Linked DNA regions of Homo sapiens: regions 2, 3, 4 and 5 are each linked to region 1. The links are contacts of gene promoters, found by promoter capture Hi-C in blood cells and fetal thymus (Javierre and others, 2016). All regions are on one chromosome and are shown on one strand. The core of a region is centred on a gene start or on the middle of the fragment in contact, and the rest is flanking DNA. Distances in the headings are between cores, read along the strand shown.

Region 1 (2,688 bases), core at 68-2,567:
TCAGACTTTCGTTATCTTTCTAACACACTCCCAAAATGTGCATTTATATTTCAAATTTATGAGGAACCAATTAACATTTTTGCTTTGTTTTTAAAATTTATTTTTGTAGAGATGGGGTCTTGCTATGCTGCGCAGGCTGGTCTTCAACTCCTGGCCTCAAGCGATGATCCTCCTGCCTTGGCTTCCCAAAGTCCTGGGATTACAGGTGCGAGCCACACTGCCCAGCCAATATTTTCTGTTTTAAGAACCATCGGTTCGTTCAAATTGCGTGTGTATATTTTAATGTACAAGGCTTGATTGGTAACTATAACCACTGTTTCAATTTACAGCTCTTCCCTGTCAAGAGTCTTAAACAGAGCATCTTTCTATAACCCTAAATCTCTGGCGTGCCACCACGGAAAATTATACTACTCAAGATAAAGCTGGTAATTAAAATAAAAACCAAAACTTGAACATAACATACAAGAACACACATACTAAAAGGTCCATCTTCTGAGTATTTTGTTTTCCTGAACTTAAGCTAAACGTTAAAAAAAAAAAGCACTTATCTATGAAACTAAGTTTGCTCAGCCAATCCCACCTTCTATTTGAAATAAAACAAAATGATTAAACTGCTACAATTAGAAATAACAGAAATCAGGCGGCTACAATTAGACATCTCGGCTACCAACCCAGCTATGCATCTAACAACACAGACCAAACAACCCTAACTTTTAAGTTTCAGACGCTAACCCTCTACCCTCGCCGGCTGGCATAAGAAACGTGTACATGAGGTCCAGTTTTAATGGTCTTCCACAGAGCAGAGGCTATGTTTCAATTTCTACTTTACTGTCTTACAGCAGCAAGGAGCACGGAGTGGCGGTCCACATAAAAACTCAAATGACATGACTGTAATGGGAAACCCTAAAAACCAAGGCTGTATCGCAATCACCAAGTAAACTTGAGCAAAGCGAGCCTGAAGAGGGAAACACAGGGCATGAGAGGACGGCAGGGAGACCGGCCTTGTGCGGACCCCCTCAGCTCAGGGTTCTGAGGCCTGCAGGAGCCCGGGGCAGCGCCATCACGGCGGTGACTCCTAAATAGGCTTCAGCAGATGGGGGAAGGGCGAAAGTGAAAGCCGCAGCTCTCTGGGGTTTTTACCCTCCGTTGAAAACGTAGGGCGAAAATCGCAGCTGCAAAGGGCCCGCGGCTCTGTGCGGTTCCATCCCCAAGTCTCTGCCAGGAGCCGAATACATGGCTGTAGAGGACAACATCGCACGGCTGCGCCTGCGGATCCGACACTTGCTGTCTCACGGCGAGATGGCTGCCTTGACCGGACGTTACGCCACTTCCGGCTTCTCCTGAAGTTCGCTCCCGGCCTCTCTATCTCACGCTAGTCGTTGCTCCTGGAGGGCTGCACGGCGGCTTGTCCCTTTGGTAGTTGAATCCCGCCCATTCCAAAAAGCGCTGACAGGGATGTAAAGGGTTTTTTTTGTTTGTTTTTTGTTTTTTTCCCCCTCGAAGAAAACATTGGAATTCACCCCAATGGACAAAAATTTAAGTCTGACCATACAAAAAAATTGTCAGAACTATGGCGCAACGGCAACTCGAATAACGGTGGGAACGTTAATTGTCCTGGCTAATAAAAAATGTATATAACATTTCCTATCCTTAAAGAGCTCACAACCTCACTGATAATAAAAAGTACAAAGAAAACAAGCAGTATAACATATGATTACGCCACAATGAACTACAGAAGGGAAAATCAAGGCGTGCTGAAGTCCCACTAAGAAACAACTGCGGAAAGAGCCATGTGACAACAGTGCATGAACTGGGAGTGGCAGAACTGAATATAAATGCATGTGTAAACACAAGCTGTTTGTTTTGCTTAGTGTTCCTTGTCATTCTACACGCTTGAAGATCAGCTAGCGTTCTTGCTGACAGGTAAGGAGGACGCGCTTACTGAGTGCCAAGCACTGCTCAGGCACTGATTCTGTCAATCTCTGTCAATCTCCCGACAGCCCAAGGGTAAGCACTGTTATCATTATTCAATTTTACAGAAAAAAAATGCGGGGGAGAGGTCAGGTAACTTGTCGAAGGTAACGCCGCTAGTTGCTTTAAACAACAACAACAACAACAACAAAACACACTCACACATATACACACACACGCCATTTAAAAATCGATCTTTCCTACGTCCAGCAAGGGCCAATTAGAGATGGCTGTGGCACGGCGGCCCCGCCCCGGAACTCCTCAAGAGCTTCGCCCCTCCTTACCTATGGAAACACAGGAAGTGACCTATGCTCACACTTCTCATGGCCTCGGCCCTAGTGGGAGCAACTCGCTGAAGCCGAGGGCAGAACTGGCGGAAGTGACATTATCAACGCGCGCCAGGGGTTCAGTGAGGTCGGGCAGGTTCGCTGTGGCGGGCGCCTGGGCCGCCGGCTGTTTAACTTCGCTTCCGCTGGCCCATAGTGATCTTTGCAGTGACCCAGGTAACAGATTGTACTCTTTTCTGACGGTTCGGGCGAAGGCCACCACTGCACTGAGGCCTGGGGGCAATGGTGGGGAAGAGACTAGGAATTGGCGCGCGTGCAGGCCCCTCGGGGGACGTTCCTCCCTTTCGTGCTGCCGCCGTTCCGGCCTGTAACGGCCACTCGGCCGCCACTCCCGCCTGGTGCCCTACTCTGCTGTGTTTCGCAGGCAGCT
Region 2 (2,688 bases), core at 58-2,557, 4.2 Mb before region 1:
AGTGCGCCGGGGGCTGATGGGAGACGCACCTGCGCAGTTGTAGCTGGTCTCAGGCAGCTCATGCCAACATCAGAAAATATACACCTCTCTATGAGGTCTTGTGTAATTCTGTCTTCTAAATAGAAAGGAAGCCTTTTAAATTTTAAACAAAATTTGCAGAGTTTTCCCTCATATGTTCATACATTTTTCAGACTATTTTTAAAATGCTGTAAGCTTGCTTTGTTCAACTGAGAGTTGATCTTGTCGACTTAGAGAGATTTCATAGCATTTGTCTAGAAAAAGTAACTGCCTGATTCATTCCCCATCCCCCAATTGGCTAATGTGCCCTAATTGTTTTTAAGGAGTCACTTTTTGCTCTAAGTAGCAACTTACTTGAAATTTATGCTAATTTATAGTAAAAAATTATGACATTATAATTCTTGATTAGAAGTGCTTTTAGAAGAAAGTATAAATGTGGCTGACTTTAAATGAAGGAAAGCGTAAAAACTGGATCTGCTGAACAGTCCTTATTGCATCTGGATGGCTGTGTGTTCCCTATGGAGTAAGAAGTGCATTGGACACATGGGGAGCCAGAGACACCATCTGCCTGGGGTGGGCCACTAGAGCCCATGTCCTCCTCTGTGAAGTGGCCCGCCCTGTGCCCTCACTTCATCTCTCCCAGCCAGAATCACAGGCACTGCAATGGCACCCTGTGCCACGCGTGCTGCATCCAGCTGGGCTGTGTTAACCCTCACCCAACTTGCAAAACTCATGCTTCAGCGATGGTGTTGCTGTTGCAAACTAAGCACATTTAGTCATGCAGAACTCCTAGGCTTTTTTTGTTTTGTCTTTTTAAGTAAATAACTGTAATCACTAAAAGGTTTGAGGTAGGTGAGTTATCTGAAGGGTATTTAGTTGTACTAGAAAACACATACAAAAAGCAAAGTCTGCATTTTGACTTACAAGTGAAGAGGTTTCAGACAAAACCCTTAAGAGCTGCGTTTATATTTTTCACCTCTGCTCATCATGTGGAATCTTAAAACATCATCTATCTCCTTAAAGCCCCTCTATAGGAAAAATTAAACACTGACTCGAATAAAGTCAAGAGAATGTTAACTGACAGTTATTTGAATGTATACAGTATAAGCCATAATGAGAAAATACATAGCATGCTATTTAGATAGGTTGGATATGATTATTTTTATTTAAAGAGAAAAGTTATCACTCAAAAAGGGCACAGAATAAAACCTTCACAGGATGATCTTTCAGGACAAGATTAAAAAGTTAAAATATCTAGGTTCTAATAGCACTTGAAATTAAATAGTAAAAGGCTGGCCAGGCATGGTGGCTCACATCTGTAATCCCAATACCGTGGGAGGCCATGGTGGAAGAATTACTTTAGCTAGCCCAGGGGTTCAAGACCAGCCTGGGGAACATAGTGAGACATGCATCTCTCCAAAAATTTTTTAAATGAGCTGGGCGTGATGGCATGCATCTGTAGTCCCAGTGACTTGGGAGGCTGAGATGGGAACATTCTTGAGCCCAGGAGTTTGAGGCTGCAGTGAGCTGTGTTTGCGCCACTATGCTCCAGCCTGGGCCACAGAGCAAGACCTTGTCTCGAAAAAAAAAAAAAAAGAGTTAAAAAGGAGAAGGCAGAAATTGATTTGTTTATCCAGAACTCATTGGTGTAGACAGACTAAATGATGAAGAATGGAAGCATTTAGACCCAATTGCTCTGACGGTAGATTGTCTCGAAGTTCGTGGTAGACTGACCTCCCACCTCCTGTACCTAACAGGACTAGCCTTCTAAGAACTAGCAGCTGCTAGAAAGCAGAAACTTTACACTGAAAATAAAAACTAACAATTGCATTAAAGTCTACATTGGATAGGTGCTTACATAACACACAGTAAAAGGTAATTTCAAGTGAATTTAGAACCATTATTACTTGGAACACACATGCTTAGGACATGGATTCTAAAGACAAAAACTGTAAATAAAATTTTGAAATTGTATTTAGTAGTTTCACTGTTTGTGTTAATAATGGTATTGTTATTGTGAAACTATATTGTTAAAGCAAGTAAGTAGAGAATATTTATGTGATCAGAAATAATGCTATTCAGTATAAAAGAGATTCAATTATAAAATCAAGTAAATTAAGTAGAAATACAATACTAGAGTTGAAGTGTAAATATCAATATGAACTTGTGATTTTAAAAAAGACACCTTTCTAGCACTGACCACTGAAATGGCCAAAAAGCAATGTCCGCCTAATAGCGTAAGTGTGCCAAGAGTCCATCTTTTGGCTACAAACACCACTCCTCATAAACGCAGCCAGAACTCCTTGGAGAAATGTCTCTTCCTTCCATGTTGGGGACAAGGAAAAGACAGGGTGAGCAGGAGAATCTTGTACCAGCAAACACGAAAGCTTTCAGATTGATGGGATTGTATCAAAAGGTCACCATTAAAGGGCTCCCAGTGGCCAAAGGTAGGACATTTGAGCGAAAGAGAATAGTATCATAGTTGATAGAAACCCATTAAATCTATGAAAATTCAGGAGTCTGTTATGCTCAAAACAGAAAACATTCAAAATAATTTATCACTACTGAAATAGCTATTACACCAATTCCTTCCTTTTTAACTTTTAATTTTTATTTTTATAGATTCAGGAGGTACAAGTGCAGTTTTGTGACATGGATATTTTGGATAGT
Region 3 (2,688 bases), core at 98-2,597, 3.9 Mb before region 1:
GAGATGGCCTTTGCTCTGAACCCCTGAGGGTAAGAAGATGAGGGAATAAGTTTCCTGGACAGACAAGAGGAGGCGGGAGTCCCAGGCTGAGGAATAACAGGGCACTGTCAGGCAGCTGTGACAAGGTTTCCCATCTCTCCCTGCTACACAGGCACCTTGTGGGTAAGGCTGGTGTGCTCTCTGCATATGGGAAGATGCCACATTCTCGGGGCACCCCACAGGAGTGGCTTGAGTGACATCCAAGAGCTTCTAATTAGTCAAGTACCACAAATGTCTGTTCGTCTCCAAACAGTCCTACAGGCTGCTGAAAGTTTCAAGCTTCTAAAACTCCCACATATTTTCAATAAAACGCTAAATTGCACTTCAAGTGAAACTATATATCTTTAAAATAAATTGAAACATTCGGTCTTCATTAGGACTAAAGTTTTGCCATGGGAGGTGAATTCACTAGGTTCACCTGATGCAAAACTTCACCAGGATCACCAGGGTCACCTGGTGCTGGCCATCTGCGAAAGCAGGAAGTCGTGCTTTTCCGGAGTATCAGCATTCGAAGGCTCTGCCCATCACAGGCATCCTGCTGGATGCTCCAGAGACAGTGTCCAGCCAGTACGAGGGAGGGAGGTGGGCTTCAGTGTGTGCCCCTGTGAACTACTTCCTGTGGCTGTGATACAAATGGGTTTAGTCAAGCTTCCCTTAGTGTAGTCCCTGAGTGTACAGAAAGGAATCCTTTTCCTGGGCTGTGGATCCCCGTGTACTTGAAATGTTTATGACTTTGAAGTTTCTTGAATGTAGGAATTAGTCCTTGCTCAGGAAGATGGTCTTAAAGTCCTGAGACCCTAGAAGGTAAACTGTAGTGGACAGTTCAGGTGGGGGCACGTTCGGAGCAGGTGTCAGCAAGGGGCCTGGAGCTGTCAGGGAAGGGCTTCTTGGGCCCTCGGCAAAAGTCAGAAGGGATCAAGTTTGCCTCTGGTCTCTGGCTGGCCCCTGGCCCTCACCCACAGGACACTTGGGTCTCATTCACATCTGGGTGCCAACCAAGCCATGTCAGAATGACACCTGTGCCCTCAGTTTAACAGTTTAAAATCTCTGAGCATATCGAAAATTTAAAAAGAAAGTCTTAATGCGTAAAAGTCTTCAAAATGACAGAAATAAAGCTCTAATGGTGAAGTACCAGGAAATGGAATTTACATTTGAAACCAGAGGGCCTGGTTTCTGAGTAGTCAGGAGAGGCAGGTGGAAACCCACAGGCCAGTTGTACTTGACCCTTATTGACTGGCTTACATTTAGGAAGAAAAACCACATTGGGTTTCAAGCTGTGGAAACCATCATGGTTGGCTTCCTCCCTCCCCGCTGGAGCCCTCATCCCCCATCCAACCTGGGTAGGAAGGCACAGGGCTCACAGAAGGTGGGCTTCACCTGCAACACCTCCCCCGCCAGCCCGCTGTGAGGACAGCTTTGGATTTTATTGGTTTTTAAATACTATGTTCCTTCATACCACTTTCTTTTGAAACCCATTTATAAACCATAGGGCCAGAATCTACAGAGAGGCTGATCAAATAACTTTCCTGGTAACACAGATTTTTTTTCGTCCCTCTGCCTGGGGCACTCTGGTGCCTTCCATGGTGTCAGCGGAGCACGGCTGGAGTCATGACTCCCAAACAGCGAGAAGGGAGGGCCCTGCCTCAGTGAGCCCTTTTTCTCTTTGAGACAGTGGAACCCAAGAGATAGATGCGAACACACAGAGCAGTCATAGACACAGCGGAGCAGAGACAGACCAGAGAGAGGCTGCGCGGCAAACGGAGCCCAGACAGGTGGCACCTCAGGGCAGCACCAGTATCAGCTAAGGTGTAAATGCCTCGAAAAGACCTAAATCAAACACCACATGAGAGAGATGAAATTCAGACAGAGAGGCGGTGGGGACAGCGCTCCTCTCCGCACATTTCCAGGATACTAACTCCAGCTGCCATGCGGTGCCTTCAACCTCCAGGACCTGTCTGCCTCATAGCTGAAGCTTTGTACCCTTTGAGCAACATCGCCCTTCCCCACCCCCAGCCCTGGGGAGTTTTTAGACTCCACAGATAAGTGAGATCATGGACATTTGTCTCCCCATGTCTGGCTTATTCCACTTAGTATGATGTCCCCAGGCCCACCTGTGTTGCCCGCAGGTAGCTATGTGAGATGATGGGTGTGTTCATTAGCTTGATTGTGGGAACCCTTACATGAGGTATACCTACAGCAAACACCATGGGGTGTCCCTTAAATTATGCAACTTTTGGCTGCACGGGGTAGCTCACGCCTATAATCCCAGCACTTTGGGAGGCTGAGGTGGGCAGATCACCTGAGATCAGGAGTTCGAGACCAGCCTGACCAACATGGAGAAACCCCTTCTCTACTAAAAATACAAAATTAGCCGGGCATGGTGGCGCATGCCTGTAATCCCAGCTACTCGGGAGGCTAAGGCAGGAGCATCCCTTGAACCTGGGAGGCAGAGTTGCAGTGAGTGGAGATCATACCATTGCACTCCAGCCTGGGCAACAAGAGCGAAACTCCATCTCAAAAAAAAAAAAAAAATTTCTTTGTCAATTATACCTCAACAAAGCTGGAGAAAATAAAAAGAATGAATGAGGAAGGACATACAGAAATCAACAGCAACAACACAGAGGAGAAAGACCAGAAGACAGACACAAA
Region 4 (2,688 bases), core at 1-2,500, 3.6 Mb before region 1:
TCTCAAAAAAAAAAAAAAAAAAAAAAAAAGAAAGAAATGATCAAGGGCATAATCTGAGCCAGATAAGTGAAACTGCATTTTCATTTGTCAACAGAAAAATCAGTTGAGGAAGTAGAACAGAAAGTCCTTACTGCTCAGTGCTGGAGAAAGAGGGTCAGAGGCCAAAACCTGTAACTTCACCTCTGCCACTCAACTCTATCCCTCAGGGAACCCAGTTCAAAGCCAGAAGCTGGGCTCCTTTCCTGGAGGCAATGCAGAGAGCAAAGCCTGCACCACACGGGGCTCTGAGGGCTCTGCACAGCACTCAGTTCCCAGGCCTGCCTGCATGGAGCTGTGGGAGAGCCCAGAACACTGAGAACCCGACAGGCAGACTGAGCATCTTTGACACAAGCATCTCATCAGAGGGGGCACCAGGGACAGCCCTCACTGCCTAGGAGGACACCTGGGCTCAAACAGAACCCTTCACCATGGCTGCCCAGTAGGAAATACACTCCTTAACAAGGACATTTTGCTACAGATTTTTTTTTAAATCTTGTTTCTAAAGCCTCAAGGCAAAGATGTGCCTCCACCCATATTTACATTCAGTGTGCAGGGACACACCCACGTTTTGTCATGTAAATGCCTCCCTGAATGCAGAGCAGCCTGGTCTCAGGCCCTGGAGGCAGATCCTTCAGTGTGGGTCAAAGACAGTGCTTAAGTTCCAGCTCCTCCTCCACGGTCCTTCTTCCGTAGGAACCAAGGACTCCAGCAATCCCTCCCTATCTCAGAATGCCAGCTACACTCCCAACAATTGAAAGTTGATGCCAGGCAGCTTCCGGCTCCTTCTGTCCACTGCCCCAACCCAAGGCAAGGAAACAGCAGCAGGAGCGCAACATTAAGTCTGCAAAACTGAAAACGGGGCAATCTCGTGTACAGAAGTGAGCAAGAGCATAATTTGAGCCAGATAAGCAAAATTTCATTTTCGTTTGTCATCAGAAAAATCAGTGAGGAAGTAGAAGCGAAAGTCACTACCACTCAGTGCTAGAGGCAAAACATAAAGCCTGCGTGCTCCTGACAGAATGTGGTGCTAGCTCAGCAACACGGTCAAACACTTGAGAAGTGTGCAATGCACACCAGGGTCAGCTTGACACACCGAGCAGGGTACGCCCTGAGGTGCAGATCCAGGCAGTGTCCTGGCTCTGGGTGCTCCAATGAGAAGGGCCTGGACACTGACGCACTGAAGGGATGTGGGCATGGAGCAAAACGCAGCCAGATGATGAGGGGCCAGCCCGGAGGGCCGTGAGTGCCATGGGTGCCAAGCACAGCAAAGGAGGCAGGGAAGCTCTTGGGTCCTCTTCACTCACAGGACATGTTAATAAAATGTCCAATACATGGAGGGATGTAGGGACCAGCCCTACAGGGACTGTGGGTTTTTCTCCTCGTGTGGAGACGAGAGATTGTAGAAATAAAGACACAAGACAAAGAGACAGAAGAAAAGACAGCTGGGCCCAGGGGACCACTACCACCAAGACGCGGAGACCAGTAGTGGCCCCGAATGCCTGGCTGCACTGTTGTTTATTGGATACAAGGCAAAAGGGGCAGGGTAAGGAGTGTGAGTCATCTCCAATGACTGATAAGGTCACGTGAGTCACGTGTCCACTGGACAGAGGGCCCTTCCCTGTATGGCAGCGGAGGCGGAGAGAGAGAGAGGCCAGCTTACGCCATTATTTCTTCTATGCATTTCAAAGACTTTTAGTACTTTCACTAATTCTGCTACTGCTATCTAGAAGGCAGAGCCAGGTGTACTGGGTGGAACATGAAAGTGAAACAGCAGTGTGACTGCTGAAGCACAGCATCACGGGGAGATGGTTAGGCCTCCAGATGGCTGTGGGCAGGCCTGACTGATATGAGGCCTATCCACAAGAGGTATGGTGAAGCAGAGTCTGCTCTAACTCCCTTTCCCAGTCTGCTGAGTAACGGGTGCCTTCCCTAGGCACTGACGCTACCACTAGACCGAGGTCAGCTAAGTAATGGTTGCCTTCCCAGGCACTGGTGTTACCACTAGACCAAAGAGCCCTCTAGTGGCCCTGTCCGGGCGTGACAGAGGCTCACACTTGTCTTCTGGTCACTTCTCACCGTGCCCCTTCAGCTCCTATCTCTGTATGGCCTGGTTTTTCCTAGGCTGTAATTGTAGAGCAAGGATTATTATAATATTGGAATAAAGAGCAATGCTACAAACTGATGATTAATAATATTCATATATCATCATATCTATAATCTATTTCTAGTATAACTGTTCTCATTTTATATATTTTCTTTATTATACTGGAACAGCTTATGCCCTCGGTCTCTTGCCTTGGCACCTGGGTGGCTTGCCGCCCACAGAGGGAGGAGACAAACTGAGGCTTGCTGTGGGTTGAACCGTGTCCTCCCAGAAGATATATCCCTGTCCTAACCCCTCCTCCCATCTGTGAACATGACCCTACATGGACACAGGGTCTTTGCAGATGTCATCAAGAAAAGGTGATACCAGATTAGGGTGGGCCCTAAATCCAATTACTGGTGTCCTCATCAGAAGAGACAGAGAGACACAAAGTGGAGAACACACCGTGAAGGAGAAGGCAGAGATTGGGGTGATGGGTCAGCCCAGGAACGCAGAGGACCACGGGTCCTTACTAGAAGCTAGCAGAGAAACAGAACAAACTCTCT
Region 5 (2,688 bases), core at 140-2,639, 3.6 Mb before region 1:
GCAGTTGACTCGGCCAAAGGAAAAAAACTTAAGCTGAAAGCTGAGGCCTGCCCGAAGGAGCCTTTCCTGTGGCGCCTGAGCCGAGGGCTTCAGGGAGAGGGCCGCGCATCGCAGCGCAGCCGCCCGTCTTCCCGTGGCTTCCCTACGGCCGCGGCTCCCGCTGCTCCTTTCCGCCGGCCACGCGGGTCGCACGACCTTCCCCTCCCGCCCACCCTGAGGCGCTGAAGCCCTCGACGCCGGCCTCGGGAAAGGCGCGGCCACCGCCCGTTTCGGATTCCCGTTTCCTTCCTCCGGGCGCGTCCTTCACCGTGGCCAAATCAGCCTCTCAACTGCTGGAGCCCGGCCTCGGACACTTCTCGGCTTACGCCGCCATACAGTGGCGCACCCCGAAACCCCGGAACCGACAGCTCGGCTGGCCTTGCGCACCCACACTCTCCAAGGCAGGGCTCGGTCCGGGGGCTGGTTTTGCCAAGGCGAGGGGCGAGGGGCAGCCCAGGCGGCCGGATGGATACCAAGAGGGCGCGTCAGCTCCGGCGGGACGGGGCTTCCAGGGCCCGGGAGGGGTCCAGGACTCCCCGCCGGCGCCTGGCTGTCGGCGGAGGGCCGCGGGGCAGGAGGGAGTGGAGACTGCGGCCCCAGTTCGGGCAGCGCGGAGCCCACCCAACGCCCTCCTCGGCCCTCGGCTCTTCCTGGGGCCATCCCGCCCCTGCACCTCGGCCTGGCACCTTTCCGGTTAGCCTCGGAGGCCGTGGCCGAGCAGGGTGCGTTCGCCTGGCTGGGGGGCCTCAGAACGTTATTTCCGGGTGACAACCTGCAGGGCCTTCCGCCCCTCGCGACCTCTCGGGAGTCCCTTCCCCGGCGCCCCCCCGGGGCTGCAGGGGCTGCAGGTTCGGTCTCGGGGCCTCCTTACCGCAGTCCGCCCGGCTTTAGGCTAGTGGGCTTTAACTACGTCGATAATATGACTCCGGCGATCTTGTGCGGCGATGGGATGCGGCCGTGGGCGGTGGAGTCCAGGCGGAGTCCGCTCTCCACACGCGAGGGCGCCTCCTCCTCACCGCTCGCCGGCTTCAAAGCTCGCGCCTCAGGCGACGGCAGCCAACGGGTTGCCGGCTGGAGGCCCCGCCGACGCCCCGCCCCTTGCGTGCCCACCCGCGCCCCGCAGCCCCGCCCCCAGCGCCGACCCTAAGTTTCGGCGCTCAGTGGTCCGGCGCTCCCCAAGGCTCGGTGTCCAGCGTCAACCCCGAGGTCTCTATGCCCCGCCTCCCGACGCCAGGGGGCAGGGCCAGCGCGCTGCGCGTCGGGGCGGGGCTTTGGCTGCGTCGGCCGCGTAGCCCGCGCGCGGAGCGTACCCTGCTGCGGCCGTTGGCCGTTAGCGCGGCTTCGGCGGTTGTCTTGGAGAAGCAAGATGGCGGCGACGGCGGCCGCAGTGGTGGCCGAGGAGGACACGGAGCTGCGGGACCTGCTGGTGCAGACGCTGGAGAACAGCGGGGTCCTGAACCGCATCAAGGTGAGGCCGGAGGCTGGGGCCGGGCCTGGCGGATCCGCAGGGCTTGCGTGGACAGCGGGCGTCACAACGGTCGCGGCGAGGAGGCCGCCTCCCTGGCGAGGGACCGGGGCCGGCGGGCACTGGGGGCGCGCCCCGGCATGGCCTCCGTCCTGCCCGCCCCACAGAGGGGGTCGGCTCGTTCGTTCGTGTGGTCCCGGAGGGCACCGCGGACTGGGGGTGCCTGGCCCATCCCCTGCCTCATTCCGTGGGGGCGGGACCGCGGGGCTTGGGGGCCACACGGGCGGCCCGCAGCTGGGCCCTGGAGTGCGGCCCCAGCGTCTCTTCCTCAGGCTCGGGCATGATCCGCGGCGGGAAAGCAGCGCGTCCAGCCGAAGCCTGGGGGTCGGAGAGCTTGTGTGACTGAGAACGTTTCGGAAGGCGTTTCTGACCTTTGCACCTGCCCTCCCAGCTCGTTGGCTTGCTCGTGTTTGTTGCTGGATAAATGTGAGCTTGTTGTGAAAATTGTCTTGAAATTATAATTTCCTGTTTCTTAACTTTTTTTTAAGGCTGAACTCCGAGCAGCTGTGTTTTTAGCACTAGAGGAGCAAGAAAAAGTAGAGGTATGAAGTTTCCAGATTTTAACATGGCTGTATTCGTTAATACTTAATTTCTTATTCATTAAAAACCGTCTTAAAAATAGTTTATAGTAACATATAGCTAGGGATAATTTTGAACTGTTAAGGATTACATTACTATTGAGAGAGAGCCAAAATTATTCTTTTTTCGTGTAGCTTTTGAATTTGGGGGTAATCTTAAGGTACCACAGTAACTCTGATACTAATGCTTAATCTGAAACAAATGGTCATAGGAGTTTCTTGAAGAAATGGTGCCATTGTCAATGTGTTAAGTGCAGGTTCACTCAGATCCTTTAGTAAGCTAATATGTTATTAATCCCTATGAAACGGGGTATATAGTATGCAACTTTTCCCAAAATTATCTGACCACTCAATTATTTTGACAATGAAAAAGACAGCGATTATTTTAAAAGTGCAGCCACTACTCTATATTTAAGTGGGTAATTTAACTTTTTCGGAGTCCCACCAACCATCCTGAGTAAATATTCTGGAATTTGTCAACAAGAATAGAACCATCATCAAAGCCTTAAACTCTTGCTGTATGACAAATCAGTCTACTGTCCTCTC

What was found. The method cuts DNA at HindIII sites, captures the fragments that hold promoters and counts their contacts. A CHiCAGO score of 5 or more calls a contact.
Region 2: a fragment that was not itself captured here is called in contact with the fragment with the promoter of PSMB1 in region 1 in 1 of 17 cell types (neutrophils); the score reaches 5.7 in neutrophils.
Region 3: a fragment that was not itself captured here is called in contact with the fragment with the promoter of PSMB1 in region 1 in 1 of 17 cell types (neutrophils); the score reaches 5.1 in neutrophils.
Region 4: a fragment that was not itself captured here is called in contact with the fragment with the promoter of PSMB1 in region 1 in 1 of 17 cell types (neutrophils); the score reaches 7.0 in neutrophils.
Region 5: the fragment with the promoter of CEP43 here is called in contact with the fragment with the promoter of PSMB1 in region 1 in 1 of 17 cell types (neutrophils); the score reaches 11.0 in neutrophils.

Annotation. Positions count from the first base shown.
Region 1 is chr6:170,551,990-170,554,677 of GRCh38, forward strand. PSMB1 (proteasome 20S subunit beta 1) reads right to left here and starts at 1,318. Exons shown (of 6, transcript NM_002793.4): 1 at 1,141-1,318. The coding sequence starts at 1,253. TBP (TATA-box binding protein) reads left to right here and starts at 2,380. Exons shown (of 8, transcript NM_003194.5): 1 at 2,380-2,474. RefSeq lists enhancers at 1,071-1,450, 2,261-2,650. The HindIII fragment of the contact is 7,721 bases long and covers 1-2,688 here.
Region 2 is chr6:166,355,169-166,357,856 of GRCh38, forward strand. No RefSeq gene overlaps it. Among named protein-coding and RNA genes, the nearest start is that of SFT2D1, 14 kb to the left of the region's middle. The HindIII fragment of the contact is 2,192 bases long and covers 212-2,403 here.
Region 3 is chr6:166,630,057-166,632,744 of GRCh38, forward strand. It overlaps a transcript of RPS6KA2 not described here. Among named protein-coding and RNA genes, the nearest start is that of RPS6KA2, 4.2 kb to the left of the region's middle. The HindIII fragment of the contact is 1,324 bases long and covers 686-2,009 here.
Region 4 is chr6:166,949,497-166,952,184 of GRCh38, forward strand. All of the region lies in intron 2 of RNASET2 (ribonuclease T2), which reads right to left. Among named protein-coding and RNA genes, the nearest start is that of RNASET2, 5.7 kb to the right of the region's middle. RefSeq lists enhancers at 45-730, 856-905, 1,026-1,945, 1,419-2,104 and silencers at 185-479, 186-255. The HindIII fragment of the contact is 6,484 bases long and covers 1-2,688 here.
Region 5 is chr6:166,998,008-167,000,695 of GRCh38, forward strand. It overlaps CEP43 (centrosomal protein 43), which reads left to right and starts at 1,390. Exons shown (of 13, transcript NM_007045.4): 1 at 1,390-1,507; 2 at 2,053-2,106. The coding sequence starts at 1,406. RefSeq lists silencers at 462-691, 982-1,501, 1,592-1,751, 1,762-1,851. The HindIII fragment of the contact is 9,184 bases long and covers 1-2,688 here.